Regions from separate parts of the Homo sapiens genome. Here region 1 is linked to region 2. Evidence: promoter capture Hi-C in 16 types of primary human blood cells and fetal thymus (Javierre and others, 2016). All regions are on one chromosome and are shown on one strand. The core of a region is centred on a gene start or on the middle of the fragment in contact, and the rest is flanking DNA. Distances in the headings are between cores, read along the strand shown.

What was found. Contacts are between HindIII fragments. The CHiCAGO score rates a contact against its expected background, and 5 or more counts as called.
Region 1: a contact is called between a fragment that was not itself captured here and the fragment with the promoter of BRINP3 in region 2, in 1 of 17 cell types (M1 macrophages). The highest score is 5.8, in M1 macrophages.

Annotation. Positions count from the first base shown.
Region 1 is chr1:192,339,209-192,346,272 of GRCh38, reverse strand. RGS21 (regulator of G protein signaling 21) reads right to left here. Exons shown (of 5, transcript NM_001039152.3): 2 at 3,226-3,296. The coding sequence starts at 3,236. It overlaps LOC124904473 (a long non-coding RNA gene), which reads left to right. Exons shown (of 2, transcript XR_007066775.1): 2 at 2,623-2,914. Among named protein-coding and RNA genes, the nearest start is that of RGS21, 26 kb to the right of the region's middle. The HindIII fragment of the contact is 1,731 bases long and covers 400-2,130 here.
Region 2 is chr1:190,472,279-190,479,299 of GRCh38, reverse strand. BRINP3 (BMP/retinoic acid inducible neural specific 3) reads left to right here and starts at 1,436. Exons shown (of 8, transcript NM_199051.3): 1 at 1,436-1,852. It overlaps BRINP3-DT (BRINP3 divergent transcript), which reads right to left and starts at 1,040. Exons shown (of 3, transcript NR_110716.1): 1 at 808-1,040; 2 at 160-218. RefSeq lists a silencer at 6,174-6,374. The HindIII fragment of the contact is 5,146 bases long and covers 295-5,440 here.

The DNA.
Region 1 (7,064 bases), core at 16-2,515, 1.9 Mb before region 2:
GTTTTTATAGTTTTTGCTAGGATTGATTGTACTTCCTCTACTGATGCAGTTGTAGTTGCATCTTCAGTTAATAATGGTCATCCTCATTAAGGACACATAGAGAGGACACTGTAGCTAAGAATTCATTTTACTATTTTCCATTACTCACATTTCCAATCTAAAATTTCCTTCTCCTGTTGTAGGCAGCTGACTTTCCTTTCTTCCTTGACTTACTAAATCTTGGGGACACAGATTACCTGTGAAACCATTTGGAAATGGTGTTTTTTTTCATTCAAATAGACACAAAAATTGAGTTGTTCAGTTTCTGTCTTTCATAAATGGAGGTTGAGACACAATGCTAGATTTAATTTTACATTGAAGATATTTTGTGTACTCTATAACCTGTTACTCAAATAAGCTTATGTTATATTTCATATAACTCAAATATTAGAACTTGTAGGAATTCTAAAGTTATACGATCATTTAAAATACACATGCTTAAAAATATTCCTGTTTGTATACTAAAATTTGGCTGCTAGCAGGGTATTCAAATTAAAGCTACTTAGACCTGTGGAACATATGCTAATGAATAGGATAGAGAGGAACCTGGCCATGCAGAATGCCCATTTTGAATGAGGAACAGGCAGCCAGGAAAAACTGAAAAATAAAATCTAGACAAATTCATTCAAAGATGAACATTTATATTCCCATTAGTATGTAAGTCATCTGATGACAGGACTAAATGTTATTTTCTAGCACCAAGAACAGTGTGCCTGGTCTATGAAATATTGAACATATTAACAAATAAATAATGGATGACCAAACCCCAAATATTGACACATATTAAAGCCTTCAATGGAAGAGGGTAAATGGCCTTCAAGATGCTGATAAATTACAGTGATAAAAAGTATTGAAAAGTGTAGCTAAATTGTATTAGCTTCAAAGGCATAGAGTGTTCTGGGAAAGAGAAGATGAAAAATAATGTGAAAACGTCACTGAATCATCATGGACCTCATTCTCAACTCTGAGGTATGTGAGGTTGGAGAGAATAGCTGACATCCATTCTAGAAGGCAGTGTCCTTTAAGGACAGACAGGTTTTACTTAATCCAAAAGCAAAAAGGCATATTTCTTGAAATCTTTTTGGATATAAAGGAGTATTTATAGAATGAAGGTGTTTACATAAATAATAGCTATTTGTATCATCTTCATTAATGTAGAGAAACAGTAAGAGAAAGAAAGCAAAGTGTGGGAGATGGTGTAGAACCAAGGATAAAAGAAAAATTCCTAATGTTTTGAATTACAGAGGGATGCTAAAATGTTACAGATATTTTATAGATAAAGACATGGAATACTATGGATAATAGAATTAGTTATATGGGTATATCCTAGTATTAATCAAGGTCCACAAAATGCTGACATTGTTTTTAGGAGAAAAAAATTGCCCATCGGCTCTGAAGGAGTACCTCTGCTGGTGTGTAGCAATGCCTGGAATACCCTCAGCTCATTCCTTTATAGCCTATTTCTTATCCAGAAGGTTAAATTTTGACTATCTGAGATGTTGAAAGAGTTGGAGGTAACATAGCATTTACTTTTCAGAAATTAGGTGAAGTGTAACTATTTTAAGGAGTAATGCTTGTTTGTTGCCAGTTAAATTTGTAAATTTTGGAGTTTCTTGTAATTCTGTGAAAGAGCAAATTGATGGTATCTATGAATAAACTGAAATACAATATTTATAATAGCACTAAAATGCACAACTATGTATTGGATGTTTACAATGCATACCACATTGTGCTACGCATATCATAGACTTCATTTAATCTTGAAAATAACAGTCTGTTTTATTCCAATATTACCAAAGAGTAAAGAGGGTCAGAGATACAAATAAGTAGTGCAATATTCCACAGACAGTAATGGCCAGAGTTAGAATTGAAACACAAGTTTGTCTGCTTTAACCCAAGTTATTTCATACTTCTTAAATGGATGAGTTAATACATATATATTTGTACTTTATTCATGTTTTGGAACATTTATAATAACTACCTAAAAAGTGTTTTTTTCCTGCAATAGAGATTTATCATATTTCATAGAAATACTATAATTCCTCTAAATAATAGTTAAAATTGTGGTAACTGGCTGCTCAACTGAAAGCTTACACGAAACAGAATTTAAGAATTCATGAACAATATTATTCATGAATTCTTAAAGCTTGTACACTATCAAATAAAAATAGGGCATTTCTTATGGTAGATGGGAGTAAGAAATATCATCTTCTGTTTTTAAAAAATGTAACTATATAAATGTTAAGAAAGAAATCTATTGAATAAAAGTTGGAGAAAAAAGAGGATGGTTGATTTTAAACTCTACTGACTTGGTTGACTTTTACTTGATATGTGCTATCTGAAAAAATGGACAATGGCCACTCCCTCATTTCTTTTTTTCTTCCTTTTATTGAATTTTAACAGCAGTTTTGTCTGGCTCTTTTCATTTCTGTGTTTATTTCCTGTAAAATTGTGATGCATAATCAGAGTAAGTTTTTGTTTGTGTATGATTTGCCATGAAAAGTCACTGTGTATCTGAAGCCAAAATTACACTTAGTATTTCATGCGGTTTTGGCTGATTTCCTTTCTATTTTCTTCATTAAGCAAGTGCCATCAAGGCCAGCAGTACCCATATTATATGTCCAGAGAAGAGCCAGGCCAGATGGGAACTGCGTGAAAGCAACCAGTTATCTTGCTAATTATGCCAGCTAGAACCAGTTGTATTGCATTAAAAAATGTGGAATCCAACAACTTAGCTGTTCACACTCAATTAGCAGTGTGCTGGAGAATGGAAAACTCAAGCAAGGAGTCCATGTGCTCCAGGAAGTGACAGCTGCTTCCTTACCCAGCATTTAATATCCATGTAAAATTTTTTCAATAAACGTTGTGATAATTTTTGCAAGAATCATGTATATGTTATGTCTCTAATTCATCTCATAATTTAAAAAAAACATAAAGTTCAGTGGTCTATCTCCACTTTATAACCTTTCTTTAGCCCACATGAAGAATAAAGTGCAAAAGTAAGCCACAAATTCTTGACATGTTTTCAAAAAGAAGAAATCAGTAGAGAAAGGAGAAAAAATCAGGAAGACAACAATTAGCGTATTTATCATAAATGAAGGAAATAAAACATCGAGACTAAAAGAAGACTCAAGTGTTTCATTTGTACATCTTCTGAGATAAAAATAGCTGGAAACGGCAACTCACTTCACTGGCATTTTTCGTTCCACTGTCTGTCACAGATGATGCCGAGTTTCTCTTTCTGACTGATCTTCAAGCTGAAGGTAATGTGACAGCAGGAACATTACAATTAGTATGCGAATACCTATCCCCTGGGTTACAAATTGGCATTCTTTAAATTCTGCTATTCTCAGCTTTTTTATTTTTGTTATTAACTTTTCATTGGTCAAAACACTTAAACTTCTAAGTAATAAATAACTCTTTGAATAAATGTGACATTTCTCTGAGTCTGTGGCATAATTGAAATAAATTCCATCTGAAAGTTTTTTCTGAAGTTCATATTCATCTGTTTGCAAGACAACTATTGTTCACAGGAGGTTAAACCAATATATAATGATATACATATTATAAATATACATATTTATAATTAATATTCACCTTTAAGTCTTTAATCTGCCTAAGAGATCATTTTGTTTTCCTTTGTTCTTTGATTTTCAGAGAATCTGAGGAGGGCTCTACCTTTAGTATACTTATCTTAAACAACTATATATGTTTAACTATTTAAGCAATTTTATTCATGAACTAAAATGTTCTAATATAAGACATTGCAGTTTTCTTTGAAATTTATGCAGTTTTTATTGCTTAATAACATACATTTCTCTCTTTTAACCATGGATCTCAAGTCATTTTATGCCAATATTTCTTTATGCAATATGATGTTTAATGTAATAAGGCTAATATATTTATCAAAACAAAGACCATATATTGGCAATTTTAATTATAGTTAAAGTTTTATAACTTCATGCTTTGTCAAGCTTTTATCTCAATGTAATACAGTTCTTTGGTAGTAAAATTCAACTGGTATGTGTTTATGACCCTCAATGTCAATTAAAAACTCTTGAAAGATTGACAATTTTTCAGGTGGGAGAAAGAAAGCAGTCAAAAGAAGGTAAAAAATGTTCTTCTCCTTGACTTACCGTGGAAATGCCCTAGTTGATCTATAGAAATGGTTAGTATCAGTGGCCCTGGACTAATGAAACTGAGAGAAGTAGAAGAAATGACCTAAAAAGTCGGTGTATCATTAAGAAGGGAAATCATCAATCAGCACGATCCCTTTTGTTAATTCAAGCACCATTAAGTAATGTTCTTAGGATAAGCAAAAACTGAATCATTAAACATATTTTCACTTTTTGTTTTGCTCAGGGGGGATAATGAAGTATTAATTTTATAATATATGCTTGAAAATAGTACAGTTTGGAAAATACACTGTCAAAATTTAAAGACCCTCTTGGTTAAAAAAAAAAAAAAAGAACCATGCAAAGTCTTTAAGAAATAGGAGCCAGGAATAGGCTTATTTTACATTAAAATGTTAAAACAAAAATTTAAATTTCTATTTTGAGTTTAGTGCAATTGCAAGCATGCTTTTTCTCATAAATCCTTCCACAAACCACAATTATTGTTTAATGTGCACTTTCCATTCCTTTCAATCTTCATTGTTTAGAAAAAACTAATAATTGGATTTTATTTATCAAAATGAAGCCTCATAATACAATGAGCAGGTGAGGAAATAAGCTTTCTTATTAGGCTGAATGATGCTTTATAGCATTCAATGTATCTTGACAAAGGATTGCCATATAGATACTGTTGGGACATCTAAATACCGTCAGCTTTTGGTCCAGTGGGTTTAGGCTCCATTATCAGAACTTATGCACAGTGTAATAAGCTAAGTATACAACCCTCCCTGAAAAGATGTCTGTGTCCTAATGCCTGGAACATGTAAATATATTACTTTATGTGACAAAAGAGAAGCTGATTATCCTAGATTATCCTGGGGGATGGGGTGTAATTATAAGGGACCTTTTAAGAGGGGAGAAAGGAGGGTTAACGTCTAGTAGTAGGATATTTCAGGATGAAAACAAGATGTTGGAGTGATGTGAGAAAGGGGTTAAGAGCCAAGGAACGTAGGTGGCCTCTAGAAGCTGAAAAAGGCAGGGAAAGAGATAGTCTCCTCAAAGACTCCAGAAGCATGCAGCCCTGCCAATATCTTGATTTTGACCCAGTGAGACTGATTTTGGACTTCTGGTCCTGATATGGTTTGCCTGTGTCCCTACCCAAATTTCATCTTGAATTGTAGCTCCCATAATTCTCACGTATTGTGGGAGGTACCTGGAGGGAGATAATTGAATCATGTGGGCGGTTTCCCCCATACTGTTCTTGTAGTAGTGAATAAGTCTCATGAGATCTAATAATTTCATACGGAGTTTCCCCTTTTGGTTGCCTCTTTCTCTTGTCTGCCGCCATGTAAGATGTGCCTTTCAACAGCTGTGATTGTGAGGCCTCCCCAGCCACGTGGAACTGTGAGTCCATTAAACCTCTTTTTCTTTATAAATTACCTAGTCTCAGGTATGTCTTTATAAGCAGCATGAGAACAGACTAATACATGTCCCCTGGACTCTGAGATAATAAATGTATATTGTTTAAGCAAGTAAGTTGGTGGCAGTTTTTTACAACAGCAATAGAAAATGAATACATCTAGGGAACTCCTCTCTTTAAAACCCTCCTTAAGAGAAGGAAGGTAAGTAATAAAATAGGCATAAATTTTGAGACAAGAGTAACAAGTTCATATGCAAATGTGGATTCTTCATCCTGGACAATAACCTTGACCTTTCTGAGTCTCTTTGCTACTGATAGTATTGATAATACCTATCTCACAAAGTTATTTTGTGAAATTGAAAGAAAATATAGCAAGCCAACACATCTTACATAGGTTTATTTATATATGCTTATTTATTTTGTTTCCTTTCTCCTCATTTGACATTCACAGAAACATGGTGAAGATAATAATATGGGAGATCTTATGGACAATACTGTCATGCAATCAATGGGAATTTCTGTGGAAAGATATGAGATTTATTCTGCAATATTTTTAAATACTTGTACAAGAAATCATAGGTGCTGGAGGAATATAAAACTTTAATCAGACAGTATAAAATTGGTCATTCTGGAGAATTAACATGATGAGAGTATGTGTGGAATAATTGGAAGACTGAGAGGCAGATGGGAAAGTTAAAGATCATGTTTAACTCCATAATATATAACAATTATGTACATACATATATAATATAAATATATGTTTTATTTGTCAATTACAAAATTAATTAATTTAAAAAGTAAAGGGGATTTAGCAGAATCATAGAAGGTATTTCTTTTCAGTTTATGGGTTCATGACACAAATTATACTCATAAACCACTTTAGAGCTATAATATTTTTGGGAACTGGACTCTGCAGTCAACTTTCTAGTTTAAAAAGTAACATAGTTTTTTCTCCTTGAAATTGCAAAACAAAGTTTAAGAAAATTTTTTTAAAAAGTATAGTATGCTGGTCCAAACACGAGAGAACAAGGGTGGCTACAGATGGATGGAACAGTAAACATCATTGGTATTACGTCTGTGCAGAGGAGATGGGGTTAAGAGGGTCAAAGGAACAGATTTCAAATCTGGTAGCTTGAAAGAATGGTGATTCCACTCATGATCATGGCAATCCATTAAAAAAACAGGGTTAGGAAAATCAATACATAAAAAAAAGGTTTAGAGATATGTAGAACATTTAGATATGGTTTCCTTAACTTTCCTGTCATAGTAATTTCATAGGCATATTCAAAGACAATATAGAGCATTTAAATCTACATGAGACCCCACTATTAACCTAAGAAACTACTGCTGTTTATACTTCATCATTAAAGGTAGGATAAAAAAATTAATAAGAACTTAATTCTGGTACTTGCATAATTTAAGCAAAAGTATCATATTTTATCTTGATGCAAGTGCTAAACAATGTTCTTTTTTTTTAAAAAAAAATGCCGATT
Region 2 (7,021 bases), core at 187-2,686:
CCTTACAAGCTACTACTCTCCTAGGGAAGAGGAAAAAAAAATTTCCACTGACCCAGCTCGTGATTTACATACAGAGAGCAAATAAATGAATGGAGTGGGGGATGGGGCAGTGAGAAGCAATCTGTTTCTTTTTCAACCGCAGAAAATAAGATTACTTACCAAGAACATTTTTATCCAGGGCAAATGTTTATTCCCTCTATCATTCAGCGCCTCAGTCTCTGCAAGAAATCAATTTCCACTCTACCTTTCCCTCCTATTTCTAAAAAAGAGAGTGAGGCGGATAATTCTTAAGCTTCGGGGTCCGGAGGAAGATAGAGCTAGAGCGGAGGGCAAAAGACTCCCACAGCGCTCTTTATACAGATCCCAGCTCTGAGAGCGAACCCATGGGGAGGGGGCGGGGGATCATCTCTAAGGAGAGTACTCCGAGTAGGGAGGGGGATTCATTCTGCAGCCAAAATATAAATCATCTACAAACAGATTACTAGCCTCTCAGTCACACAGGCAGTTCCCTTGGGAAACCGGTTTCAAAGAGGAAGAAGTTCCTGGAGAGAGAGAGAGAGAGAGAGAGAGGGAGGGAGAGAGAGAGAGAGAGAGAGACTGGGGTTTGGACTTGCAGAGGGAATGGGGCCAAGGAGAGGAATAGGGAGAAGGAATAAAGCTAATCTTACCGATCGATCAGGCGATCGTTTGTTCAGTATTGGGACACGAAAATGGCAAGATAATGCATTCGGCAGCAAAGCCATTTCTGGCACACTCTCTCTCAGTTACTGCAGGAATCAGAGGGGAAGCGGGCGCCTCGAAACCTACCACTTGCTCCCCAGGGACCGTCCTCAGAACCTCCAAAGCTCTAGCTTCTAATGCAAGGCGTTCGGAGCTGAGGGTTCAGGTGGAAGTCAATTGTCTTGAGTCACAGGCAGCAGGAACGCCAAAGAAGTGGGACCTGGGAGGGCTGCTGCCGCCGCTGCTGCATCTAACCACGGTTCCCCGTCCCCTTGCCTAAGCCTCACCGGCACAGCGCCCCCGAAAGCGCCTAGCGACTCGGCCTCCTCCGCATCTTCAGCCCTTCGATCACCGCCCGCACCCCCCACCCCCCACCGCCTCGTGCAAATCGCTGATGATTTGGTCATCGTAATGTGACCGGTCGTAGTGGTTTATTTGGGGAGTGGGGGAATTGGTTGTGTTGGGCTTCCTTACTACGCCTCCCTCAGTTGCTGCAAGTGAAAATGTTCAAGGGAAATACTAGTGAAATGCACTGATGGAATACTATTAATCCTAATGATAATGGTCCCAACGCAGGTAACTCTTAAAGAACTGAGAGTGGGAAGATCAGAGCAGGATTTCCGAAGTGGTGCCCTCTTGAATTCTCATTGGATCCTCCCCAGCAGCCTAAATCATTCTTGCTGCTATATCTATCAGGATGACTACAGCCTTGCTCACTAGTTCTCTCTTTATCTCGTTGTCTTCAACACATCCTTTTACTTCTCTTTGCAGATTTATCTGTATTCCACCTCCTGTTCTCTGGGGTTACACAGCTTCTGCCTTTCCCCACTGTATGGGGATGTGCAGCCTGTAAATTTTCACTTTGCTTAAGGATCACCACGAATCACCCCCCACCATTCCCCACCCCCCCATATAAAGCATTTTCACATTCTGCTTTCTTGCCTTGGGGGTTCGTGGCTCTCTGTGTAACTGGTTTTTACTTGGTTACATGCCACCAGGAACTGCTGATTATTTTAAAGTCCTACTACCCTGCAGCTCACTACTTTACCTTGATTTGGAAGATCATGGAATATCTATTTGAATCCTGGATGTATTTTTCTCACAGTCTTCTTGCTTCCTGAAATTTCCTCTGGTAAGTTATTCTCTTTATCTGTTACTAGAAACTTAACTATTGCTATTTTTAATAAGCTCTGTTTTGTTGAAGTATTTCATTTTTCACATTTTTGTTACTTTCAGAACTGAAAGATCCATATGGCCATATTTATTAATTAGTATGTTAGTGGCAACTGCACTGCTAAGACATAACCCATGTAATGTATTACCCCAATATCCCATGTATTACCCCAATATCTTTTACCTTCTTTATTTTTAAAATATTTGTCCTCATTTATATTATGGGTTACACGGACATTAATCGCCCCCACCCCCATTAACCCTTCTTGGCACACATTCCTGTGCCATTTGAAATGTCACATTTTATAGGTTTATCTAAGAGAGAGCTTAAAAGAGACCTTCTGACAATTGCAAGGTCTGGAAAGTTCGCTAGTCGGATATTCAGAAGGTTGTTCAGGTCAGCATTTGTTCATGATAAGCAATTACATGACTGAAGGAAGACTTTGTTGCAAAGTGTATTTTTATGAATTTAGCAAGACCTTAAGCACTAAAATGCCACTGAATGGTAGGAAGAGGACTGTGAGTTTTGAGGGCACCATTTTTTTTTCTTAAAATATTTCAAATCACACATAAGCACGTTATTTTAGGCATTGTATTTTAATTCAGGCATAGTATTTGTCAGTACATTTCTGATTTTGTGAATTAGCTGGTGAACAGTTAATTGGACACAGAGTACTCATTTCAGAGAGGAGCAATCAGAAGAAACCCCTGATTATCTTGGTTCTGATAAATTGAAATTCAAGAATAGACTTTACATGAAAAATTTAATTGCCTCACTCTTCATACTTGTCTGCCCCCAACCCTTGTGTTTAATAGGCATGTTAATATGGTCAGTGCCTTTTGCTTTTATGAACATTTCTATGGACTTAACTGACAAGATTATCACCTCCTCTTCCGTATAGTTGTGTTGAGAAACATTTTAATCTTTACTTTTACTTCACAATTGACACATAATGAGGAAAGCACGATATTCATTAAATGCCAAACCTGCATGTATCGGTAATTTTTAACACCCACTGAGGGTTTTCTCTGAACATCCGCCCCCCGCCCTCAAATTAAGGACAAGTTCCTGGTCTCTACAACATTTCCTTTTCTTGGGATACATGGAGGTAAGAACCTATTGTTCACGCTTTTCTTTTCCTTTTTTTTTTTTTTAATTTCTGGGAAATAACTATTCTTGTCGTCATTGATGGCTGACGCGACAACCCAAGCAATGTTTTTTTAAATTCAAAAGCCCTTTTAGCTCCCAGACATAAAAGTACTCCAGCTGCAGCGTCGCCCCATCCCCCCGTCTCGGGATTCAAGGGCTTTTCCCCCTTGACTCCCACCGAGAGGGAACGGGGGTTGAGACTGTGGTCCGCACCACTTGGCGCCCCTCACCCGTCACTAGGTCACTAGTTTCTACCTGGTCTCTTTCCCAGTCCGGTCGTCCTGCCTGACAAGCCAGTGCCATCAGAGTCCGTGACTTCATTTGAAGAAAGGAGGGCTTCATATAATTCAATTCAAACATTCTCTTTGGAGGACTGCTGTTGTTGCGCAAGGGTGGAGGGAGGAAAAAAAAAAGAAAAAGAAAAAAAAAACTTTCAGTACAGTCAGATCCAGTAAGGAACAGACAGTCAGTATTTAGGTAAGTGCGTTTTGCTGTATTATACCTGAAGCTCAAGCGTGTGAAAGGGAAATTTACATCTGAGGGGCTCCCGCTGCCAAGAACGTTTTAACTGGAGGGTTATCAACAGGCGACTCTGCGTGGAGATTTCTCCGCAGCTCACGGCAACGCCTATGCCACCTGAGCTCAGGGAACGGAGGAGAGCAAGGTGCCTGGTTGACCAGCTGGCCCCAGGCTTGGTGTTGATGTGGGAATAACCCATGCGTGTAGGAAAGGTGTCCCCTACTCTGACCTGCTAGCTCAGGCTCTGCACTCAGCCCCTGCAGCGAACGTGTGCTTGGTGTGGGCATTTGCAGCCCCATAGAGTGGGGTGCGCCAGGGGGTTTCCATCCTTCCAGAATGCTCCATTTCCAACCTTCCTAAGCCAAACTTGAGCAAACCTCTTCTGTATGAGAGAATAGACTTAAGATCTCTGGAGTCTCTTAGTACCTTTTTGCGTTAATATTTATTTATTTTAATGAGCTATATTTAACGTTAGTAAACGACGATTCCTCAGAATGCCTGCTTTATAAAACCCTAATCACTGTCCTTGTCTGACTGCGAAGTAGGGTTTAGAACTGTTGAATGACTTCTTAGGCTCTGTGTTAAAGTATTATTGCTGACGGTCACTCCTTCCTTTCCTTCACCAACTCCCAAGAATCTGGAGGGCGGTGGGGAGAGCGGAAGAGAGTTAGATTTCAACTTGAAGCTAGAGCTTGGAATATAAGGTTGAAGTTAAAAGCAAAGAGTGAGGGTTTGGAATCTGTCTAGCTTATATTATACCCACTTTAAAGTTGGCCTTTTATTTTTATTTTCCTCTTTCTGGAGGTGGGGGTGGGAAGTAGGAAGATCTGGGACTGGGAGCGCTCTCTTCCAGAGTCCACCGGAGAGGGGGTGGTGCTTCTTGGCCGCTGGTTACTGCTGGTTCCACAGCCAAACAGTGACAGAGAGTTTAAGTCTCTGATGGCTGTTCTCCTAGTCCCCAAGAGTTGAACCGGAGAGGCTTTTACTTTGCACCAGGTCGAGAACGTGATCAGCCCTTTAGAGAAGGAACCTCCTTGTAACAGGAATTCTGCTGGGAAACGCCGTGTAGGCACTACCTCCGAAGATAAGATGCATGTTTGGAGCTGTGTAAAATGCCCACTGGCTGTTTGAAAGAAGGAAAAGGTGACTAGGGTTGCAAATTAACCTTAGTATCACTTAAAAATATTCTATCTAGTCAAATGTACGTAAGCAAAGAAGAGAGCACCAGGATATAAAACTGCCACAGCAGCTTGGAAGACAGATGATTCAGATTTTGGGGACTTTCTTTTGCGTGTTACATAGATTTGTTTGTCATCATGCAGTTAAGCAGGTAAGGAATGAATGTATTTTCTTGACAATCATATAACTTGTGTTTTACTATCGTGATGTTTTTTCTGTGTTGCAAGCAATGGAATATATGCATTTTCAGTTGGTCCTGCTATGATGCATAACTTCTTAATATTCACATTCACGAAACAGGGTAAAACAGTTTAGATGTTTAACATGCATTAATTTAACTGCTTAGTGTGCATTTATTTAAATGTGTAGCCATGTTACAAAAATCAGAAACTGGACCAAGGTTAGAGGAAGAAATGGGAAGGGTAGAGAGTTAGAAGAAGAAATGTATAATCTTAATAAAACATGGAAGATGGCAGTTGCAGAAATGCATTAAAAACATTGCTTCTTCTTAAGGTCCCAGACCTTAATATATAAAGGACAGGTGAAGAACTATTAAGGGTTTCTTGAACTATCAAATTAATTCTGACTACTCGAGAGAACTGTTTTGTAGGTATTTCCATTATTTTCTCCACCTTAAGAAAAAATACATGAGGTGGGGGTGGGTTGGGTTGTAAAATAGAAGGAAAAAAGAAGAAAGCTTGCCCAAGGGCAGTGTAGCGTACAACCCCAGTATGAAAATCTTTGGGTTTAGAAAACCAGTTGGAAAACTGAAAAAAAAAAAAAAATAGAAAATTATGGGTTTTCTTCCCCAAATAAATTTATTTTACATTTTCAGTTTTGTAGATTGAGCAGCCAATAGATTTCTTCCACTATCAGATTTTTCTCAATTAAAATGACAAACACATTCTGAATACTCAAATAAGCTTTGTTATTATTATTGATATTGTTTTGTTATTTTTTGCTAACATGTTGAAGGAGCCTGGACTTTCCACACAGTGAAGCAAAAAAAAAAAAAAAAGAGAAAAATTACTAAAACACCATCATAAAACTCTTCTATTTGTTAATAACACTTTCTCTTCTCTAAGAAATTGTATTATTTAAATTATCTCTGGAAATAGTTTTAGTACTTATATTTATTGATGTAGATCCCTGATCAATAATTTTTCTGCTAGTATGGCTTACTGATAAAACCTGGAAGAAATAAGAAAGATAATTGTAACTTTGGGTTGTAAAATTGCAAAGTTGTAGTGCTTTTCTTAGTTGGATGCAAAAGGTAGTTTTTCCTCCACTAGGGAAAGTAATTTGTCAATGAATTCTAATTCCCTAATACTTTTGCATTTAATCCTTAGCAATTTTATTGTAGTAGATATGCTCATTGTGTATATATGTTTGTGTGTGTGTATACATATATATTTGTATACATGCACACATTTTTGGTGGTGGGAGAAGGTATTTATTTTAAATCTATGTTGTTTTAATAATGTTTTCCAAATGAAATAGACATGATACCATATAACGATCAATTTCATTTTCTTTTAATCAGATAATATTACGTGATTTCATCCTCTCATAGGATATCTTATCTTAAGAAATTCATCATCATCATAGAAATGTACATTTTCATAAACTACAATACATCTTGATTTTCTCCATGCAAAGTTATTGTACATTATAATTAAGTAAATAAAACCTAAGTAGGAAGAAACCATTGGGACTCAAAGTGTGTGTGTGTGTGTGTGTGTGTGTAATTTCTACCATTATCTTGACTCCTAGATTTGAGGATTCTTTAAATAAAAGTGTATTTATTTGCAGTGTAGTGTATTTGTGGGTTTCTCTCCACAAGTACAAAGAATGCAACTGTTGGGATTTCCAAACTTTTATGTTTCATTATCAACCTATGATTCAGTTTCTTATGTTTCCTGTATTTATTTTTAGTTTTTCCACATTATCTTTAAAAGAGGCAGTTATTTACTAGAATAAGAGTCTGAAACATTTTGTAATTTAGCAAATTGCATATTAATATTAAAAGAGTTCAGACGCAAATTGGAATATGACACCAACTTGTGTTATCTTTGTTTTGCACACATATTGTTTTTAGAAAAAAAATATTTTTTCTTGAAAAATATCCCAAAGATTTTTGGATATTATGATTGTGTGCTTATGATTAGTGATGTTCTCTTCTAAGGCTTTTAATGTTTTTTTCTTTCACATCGTAATAAAGGGTTATTGGGAAAAGTAGAGTGCTTGTACACGTAGACTTCCTTCCTGAATTTCAGTTCT